Regions from separate parts of the Homo sapiens genome. Here all the other regions are linked to region 1. The links are contacts of gene promoters, found by promoter capture Hi-C in human tissues and cell types (Jung and others, 2019). All regions are on one chromosome and are shown on one strand. The core of a region is centred on a gene start or on the middle of the fragment in contact, and the rest is flanking DNA. Distances in the headings are between cores, read along the strand shown. Region 1 holds the start of ZSCAN25 (zinc finger and SCAN domain containing 25). Region 2 has its middle 7.5 kb from the start of CYP3A4. Region 3 has its middle 13 kb from the start of CYP3A4-AS1.

Region 1 (2,617 bases), core at 67-2,566:
GAGACCCTGTCCTTACAAAACATTTTTTAAAGATTAGCTGGGTGTGGTGGCTCATGCCTGTAGTCCCAGCTATTTGGGAAGCTGAGGTGGATTGCTTGAACCCAGGAGTTGGAAGCTGTAGTGAGCTATGATAGCACCGCTGTACTCCAGCCTAGGTGACACAGCAAGACCTCGTCTCTTAAAAAACAAAACAAAACAAAACAAAAAAACAACAACTGTGGATTTTGTAGCACATTAGAAACAGCTGAAAAGTGGATTATTAATAAAAAGGTGAAGACATAAACCCAAGTCAAATATGGGCAGACAAGAAAAATATGAAAGTGGGACAGAGACATGGAGGATAAAGTGAGATGGTCTAACACCTATGTTATATTCTAGGAGTTCATTTACTCTATAAGTGTATATTTTTAGCAAATATTGTACCAGACACTTTGCAAAGTGCTGGAGAAGAGTAAGACAAGAGGGTTTCCTGTTTCCTGAGTGGATTCTGGAGTAACACTGGGCCACCCAGTTGAGACAGACTGCCTTCAGGCTGGACGCGGTGGCTTGCGCCTGCAGTCCTAGCACTTTGGGAGGCCAAGGGGGGAAGATCGCTTGAGTCCAGAAGTTGGAGACCAGATTGGGCAACATAGAGAGATCCCCCTCTCTGCAAAAAATTGAAAAAAAGTCCCAGCTACCCAGGAGACTGAGGTGGGAGGATTGCTTGAACTCAGGGCTTCGAGGTTGCAGTGAGCTATGATCTCACCACTGCACTCCATCCTGGGAGACAGAACAAGACTTCTCTCTCTCTTTCTCAAAAAACACAAACAAACAAACAAACAAAAACCCCCCACAAAAAACAGCTCCGATGCTGGCTCCTCCAGGAAGCCTTCCCTGACTACACATACACACACGCACGCACACTACCCGGGGTCAGGAGCCTCTTAAGTGAGCCGGTTAGATCCAGTGCGCCCCCTATCTCCTCTGCCCCTACGCCTCGCGCAAGGCCCTCGCAGCCGGAATAGTCGCGCATTGACCGACTGGACTCTAAAGCCCCTTGGGGCAGGTGCTGTGTCCAGTAGTGTATCTGGCGATGCACCGAGTCCTTTCCACGGAGGGCAAGCAGGTGAAATGGCACGGAAGTGGAAGGGGCCTAGCCACAGAGCGCCTCGAGCTGGGCAGTCAATCCTGGGGAAGCCCTGGTGGTCTTCGCCTCGCCGGGTTCGGAACAGCAGGCTGGGATCAGCAACCATCGAGACGCATCCGCCGAGACCTCCGAGCATCCTAGAGAGGACACGGAAGCGAGTCTTTCCTTACGCACCTGTCTAACAGCGTCCGCAGCTCACTTCCGGACCGCGGATAGCACTGGCGACCCTAGCGGGTGAGAGGCCCTTCAGGGCCGCGGCGGGTGAGAGCCTCTTCAGGGCCGCAGCGGGTGGCGGGCGAAGTGGTAAACGGGCGCGGGGACGGGTTTTGGTGCCGCTACGGGGCTCGGCGGCAGCGGGGTTGCAGTAGAGCCCGTCTCCCTCCGCTCAGCCCCGGCTGAGGGCGGCAAGTCTCTCAGGAGCTGCCTTCAGCGGCCCCGAGGCCCTGCGGGTCTGGACGCTGAGGGGCCGCCGCGCTGTAGGCTCAGGTAGGAGCGAGGCTGATCCCGCTCTGCCAGGCTTGGCTTAGTGCAGGGCTGGCCACGAACCCGAAGAGATCTTGAACCAAAGCAGAACTCTGTGCAAAGTGAAAGTAATCACATAGGACACTTATTTAAAGAATAGTGATGAGCCAGCCTGGTCAACATAGCGAGACCCTGTCTCTACAAAAATTGAAAAGTAGCCGGGCGTGGTGGCACGCGCCTGAGGTCCCAGCTACTCGGGAGGCTGAGGCAGGAGGATCGCCTGAGCCCAGGAGTTCAAGGTTGCACTGACTTACATTCATGCCGCTGCACTCCAGCCTGGGCAACATGGGGAGACCCTGTCTCTACAAAAATAAATAATTAGCTGGTCATGGTGGCACTCGCCAGTAGTCCCAGCTACTCGGGAGGCTGAGGTGGGAGGATCGCTTGATCCTAGGAGGCAAAGGCTGCAGTGATCGCACCACTGGTCTCCAGCTGGGGTGATAAAACCCTGAGATCCTGTCTCAGAAACAAAACAAAAGAGTCACAATGGGTGGGGGGAGATAAAGAATAGCAATGGGGCAATTTCTATTTGTCAAATGGCAGAGATAAAAGATGAATGAGGATCTTTCTTGCCTCCAGGGAATCTGTTAGAGGGAGACACATGGGTAAACATTTGCACTGTAGTGCATTAAATGCACTAGTGGAGTGAACCAATGCAATAGCTAGAAAGGAATGAAAGAGAAATCTCAATGTTGCAGAGTCAATGAATAGACTGAAAATATAAACTTGGTTTAAGTGGGGGTAGATAAATACACAAACTCACAATAGAATATTTAGCAGAAGCTTTGGGGTGTGCCTCCTGCCAGCTGCCCATTCTCTGCTCCAGTCAGGTGATCTTTCCGTTTTCTGACAAGCAGGATCTCCTTCCCCTGGTGCTTTGGACTTCCAAGTCTGTCTTCCCAGTCTAGGTCTTCCGCATAATCCACTTGGAGGTAAATAGGACTCATTCTCCAGTCTACTTCAAGCCTC
Region 2 (2,617 bases), core at 82-2,581, 170 kb after region 1:
ATGGTGTGACTGGACACTCCTCAGGCTCTACAAAAATGACATATCCGTGTCTCCTTGTGTCCACACAAGCTGTTCTTCAGCATAGAGTGGGTCCAACCCAGCTTCCATCTGGTGCATTCCTAACCATCCTTCAGGAGTCAGCCAGGGCATCATCTCCCCAACAAGCCTCTTCCATGACCTCAGCAGGCAGGTGCTGGAGAGGGTCCCACTGGTGCTTTCTCACAGTTCCAACAGCTGAACACACAGTGGCTGTCATCCTGGGATGCTCACAGCATTCACATGCATGGGGAGCTTCTAAAAACCACAGGTTCACTGGGTGTGGTGGCTCATGCTTGTAATCTCAACACTTTGGGAGGCCAAGCCGGGCAGATCATGAGATCAGGAGTTCGAGACCAGCTTGGCCAATATTGTGAAACCCCATCTGTACTAAAAATACAAAAATTAGCAGGGTGTGTCGGTGGGTGCCTGTAATCCCAGCTACTCAGGAGGCTGAGGCAGGAGAATTGCTTGAATCTGGGAGGTGGAGGTTGCAGTGAGCCAAGATCGGGCCATTGCACTCCAACTCCAGCCTGGGTGACAGAGTGAGACTCCGACTCAAGAAACAAACAAACAAACAAAACCCCCACAGGTTCCTGGGCCTACCAGAAATGAGAAGGGCTTGCCCAGGGGCCTAACAATGAGGAGGCAGGGACCATTGAGGGCCATCTGGAGAGAATCCAAAGTGTCCCATCAATCCAGAGACATGAAAAAAAGGCATCATGCCCAACTCATTCCATGAGGGCCATAACCACATGATCCAAATCAGAAAAAAATCAGGACTGCAAAGGAAGATGGCATGCCAGTCTCATTGATGAGCATCAGTGCAAAAATCCTAAACAAAACAGTAGCAAGCCACAGACAGCAATGATCAAAGATGACACACCATGACCAAGTTGAATTTAAACCTGAGACTCAAGAATGGTTAACAGAGAAATAGTATAAATACCAATGATATCGTCAACAGGTTAAAGGAGAATGGTTATAAGATCATCTCAATGGTTTTAGGAAAAGGCTTTGATAGTTCAATAACAATATATTAATAATATATGATAATAATATTCAACTTTCATTTATGATATAAAAACCTTCAACAACTAATAGCAGGGAATTTTCTTAATCTGATGAAAGCATCTACCAAAAAAAACTTAGAGAAAACATTATTCTTAGTAGTATAAAAGCATTATGCTCTTATACCTTCTTAGTGTTTACCATGTGCACATATTACCTTTTCAAAACTAGTAACATTTTTTTTAAACAAAAAAAATCCTATCAATTAACTTACTTTTTTCTGTAATTGAAAAGAATATGATAGCTTGTTCTTGTCAGAAGTTCAGCTTGTGATTCACCTGGGGTCAACACAGGACAAGGTTTAATAATCACTGAAATAATTAAACTTTGTAATGCCTCATGAGGCTGCTTGAACCGACATGATTTCAAGGGCACCGAGAGGCTGGAGGAAAGCAGAGGGTCAGCAAGTTCATTCAGCTGAGATCATCTCAGTTTACAAACTGGGCTTTATGACCTTTAATTGGGACATGAGTTTCTTTGATAATCAAATGAAAGGAATGAACCATCTCTCTAGAATAAACCAGCAACCAGCATTTTTGCATGAAGTTCCAAGGGGACCCCAGAGAGACATGTTACTAGGAAGCTTGCCAAACCCAGTGACTTTCCAGGGGACCTGCCCACCCAAGTGCAGCCCACGCCTGACACCCAGCCCTCAATGCCCTATTCTGATCGGTTACATGGTTATCTCCAGGACCATGGGGCCCTCTCTATCAGTGTGAATGGGTTCTCCACTGTGCCCTGTGCTATGACACAACACAGGGCAACAGAACCATAAGGGAAGGTGTGAACAAGACCTTTGCAGACAGAGCCATACTGAAACCCTAGGTAGGGTACTTCACCACACGGAGGGAACTGGAGAGACACCAGGAGTTCTGGGAAGGCAGAGATAAGGGGATCTGGAACTACCTGGGGTGAAGTCTTCCTAAAGGAGTGACTGTTTGCATTATCATAGAGAAGTGTTTGGACAGAAGAAGGGAAAGTGAGAAGCATTTCAGGCTGTGAGAATGGTCCAGCTTTTTTTAGTAATAAAAAAATAGAAAACGTAGAAATTACTTTTAACTCTGTGTATTGAATACGCAAGAAATGGCATCCCAATCCTTTTCTTTACTATTATTTTTGTTATTTAGACAGTCTTGCTGCATTGCCCAGGCTGGAGTACAATGGCACAATCATGGCTCACCGCCACCGCAGCCTCCCAGGCTCAAGCAATTCTCCTGCCTCAGCCTCCTGAGTAGCTGGGACAACAGGCATGCATCACCATGCCTGGCTAATTTTTTGATGTTTTGTAGACATGAAGTCTGGTATTGAACTGACTTGCCTAGGATGGTCTTGAACTTCTGGCTTCAAATGATCCTCCTGTCTCAGCCTTGCAAAGCACTGGGATTACAGGCATGAACCACTGAGCCCAGCCACTTTATTATGAACAAGGTTGAATATTTCTGTATTTTTGACAGCTGCATTTCTTCTTTGATAAAATGTTCATGTCCTTTGCCCTTGTGATACCTGTTGG
Region 3 (2,617 bases), core at 74-2,573, 130 kb after region 1:
TGAGTTTTTATGAGATCTGGTGGTTTATAAGTGTGTGGCTCCTCCTCCCCACCCTCTCTTGCTTCTACTACAGCCATGTAAGATCCGCCTGCTCCTCCTTCACCTTCTGCCATGATTGTAAATTTCCTGAGGCCTCCCTAGAGGCAGAAGTCGCTATGCTTCCTGTAGAGCCTGCAGAACTATGAGCCAATTAAATCTCTTTTCTTTATAAATTACCCAGCCTCAGGTATTTCTTTACAGCAATGCAAGAAATGACTAATATATCCAGACATGCTCATTTTTTCAAGGTGATCAATCACAAAGCAGTCAGTTTATTGCCTCTGTACATTGACTATCTCTGTAGGAAAACCCATTAAGGCTGCTGCTCTTTATGGCAGGCCTGCTTGCAACTCATCTTTGATGGGTCATGTATGGACTCCCCCAACTGGGGGTTCTGGATGTCTGAAGACCTTCCCAGTCTGATGTTACTGAGGAGCGGAGGACTAGAGGAAGAAGAAAGGCTGATGGCAGACATCACCAGCCATCAATTCAACCGTGAATCTGCTAGTCCCACAAGGTTGGCCCCAGAGAGGCAAATTAGGAAAATGCAGCTGAAAAGTATGGTGTATATAAATGGATCCATATGCCTCATATGTGCTTTCAGCTGAAAGGCAGGGGCCTTCTAATGTCCATGTACCTTCCTGTTGATAGCAAAAGATGCAGTATTTTACATAAGTAACCATAAAATGTTCCAGATAGTTGAATTAAGACCTTGTTTTCTCTTCTATAACAGGTAGCACTTAAGGCAGTATAGGTTCCAAACATTCTGTACAAATCCAGTGACTCTGATAATATGTGGTAAAATACAACTGAGAAATGGCATGGAGGGTCGTGTTTGGAGATCCCAGCAGAGGCAGCATATAGTGCATTTGGATCCTTGCCCCAGAATAGTTAGTGGAAGTGTGTGCACCATCTACCAAAACCAGGGTGGCCTTGGGGTTTCCCACCCCAGTTTCTTCCTTTGTTGTCACAGCCATGGCAAATTAATGACACTAATCTCTGCTTCTAAACCTTCTACATGTTACATGATCTCTCAGGCCAGGACAAACTAATGAGTTAATGTGTCAGCAGCATTGGCCCCCAGGGAAAGATCTAGGTGAGTGTCTAGACTCACATGGTTCCATGTCAAGGCAGAGGCTGTGCTGGGCAAACTGTTTAGTTTCTTTCCAGCTCTCCTCTGTTTGGTAGAGTAATGCCACTTTCAGTTCCAATGAAGAGGCTAACAGAAAAGCCCGTCATCTATTGCATGTAATTGTGTTGGCCTAAGGAGGGCACGGTCTACACTATAGTTTCTGATTCCTGGGCTACACTAGCATCGTCTAAGGCTAAGGTATTGTCTGCCCAGCTGCCCGAGTCTGTAGTGGCCTCCCCACAACATGGCAGACCACACACAGAGTGACACATTTGATGTCCCTGTATCCAGGCTTGAAGCAGATGAGATGCCAATCTGTTTGCCCTTTGAGTGACCTCCACTGTGGGGCCAGGACCCATGAATATCTCTTTGGAGTTCTACCCTGAGAGCTGAGGAATATTTTCTCACTTCATGCAGATCCTATCTGGATGCCTTTGCTATCATCACTAGCTCACAGTATTGCTTACTCCCCTGCCTGAGAGTTTAAGGTAGCCTGCTAAGCAGGTATATTCAAAAAGGAGGTATTACAATAAACTGTCAGGCATGTATATTTAAAAAGACATATGCAGTCTTGTCTTAGAGATATACATTCATGTATTAGACTCATATTCCTGATATTATTCTGGAAAGGTGATGTTATTTTACACACATTTATTGTCACAAATACTGAACTAACAGCCCTCTTTTATCATCCAGAAGGAACATGCTGGAAATAGTCTATCTCCAAAAAATTCTGGTTTAAAAATGAATGAATTTAAACCATATCAATTTATTTTAAAATGTTAGAAAATGGAAACTATGTTGCCACTATTCACTGAATTCCTAAGCTTTCTGTGAAAGAATTAAAATTAGTTTTATAGTGTCTATTTTCATGTCATTGTGGTTCCCTGCTCTTAATAAAAGTCAAATTGAGGTAGAAGTTAATGGAACAGGTGGAGCCTCCACTACCCACAGTGGGAAGTAACTCTTCTCTCCACCTGCTCTAGGATGCCAGGAATCCCACCAGTGAGAGGGTTCATCCTCCTTTACTGTAACACAAAGGGGAAAAAATGTGTAAAATCCAAATTGGCTTTCACAGCTCCTGCCTTTTCAGGCTGCTAGCAGATTCCCATTAGGTGAGAAACAAAGCTCTATATTAATGCTAGCCTCCCAGAGACGGGAGGAAAAAGATTAAAGCAAAGAATAAATCTTCAAAACTTCCTCCAAGTCTCCTTTGCTCTGGAGATTAATCATTGCAAGGTAAATAGTTCTGTGTATGACAGGGTGGAGGAGTGAGTCATAGGTGGGAGGGGATGTTTTGGGACATGGCACAGGAAAGAGGGAAGAGCCGGGGGACAGCTTCCCGTGAAGTCTTGGTGTTCCCCGGTGCGTTATGTAAATGATATCCTGGGGTGGAAGTTGGGGGAGCAGGAACCACCAGGTCCACAGGGGACAAACTTCTACACA

The links. Contacts are between HindIII fragments. The study calls those that stand out against the background at their distance.
Region 2: a contact is called between a fragment that was not itself captured here and the fragment with the promoter of ZSCAN25 in region 1, in 1 of the 25 tissues and cell types used here (lymphoblastoid cells).
Region 3: a fragment that was not itself captured here is called in contact with the fragment with the promoter of ZSCAN25 in region 1 in 1 of the 25 tissues and cell types used here (aorta).

Annotation. Positions count from the first base shown.
Region 1 is chr7:99,615,630-99,618,246 of GRCh38, forward strand. It overlaps ZSCAN25 (zinc finger and SCAN domain containing 25), which reads left to right and starts at 1,317. Exons shown (of 8, transcript NM_145115.3): 1 at 1,317-1,387. RefSeq lists enhancers at 463-1,442, 1,033-1,352. The HindIII fragment of the contact is 7,246 bases long and covers 1,131-2,617 here.
Region 2 is chr7:99,790,385-99,793,001 of GRCh38, forward strand. No RefSeq gene overlaps it. Among named protein-coding and RNA genes, the nearest start is that of CYP3A4, 7.5 kb to the left of the region's middle. RefSeq lists a promoter at 1-2,617, enhancers at 1-1,622, 1,505-1,519 and a cis regulatory region at 1,056-1,076. The HindIII fragment of the contact is 3,979 bases long and covers 1-2,617 here.
Region 3 is chr7:99,749,356-99,751,972 of GRCh38, forward strand. It overlaps the pseudogene CYP3AP2. Among named protein-coding and RNA genes, the nearest start is that of CYP3A4-AS1, 13 kb to the right of the region's middle. The HindIII fragment of the contact is 4,835 bases long and covers 1-2,617 here.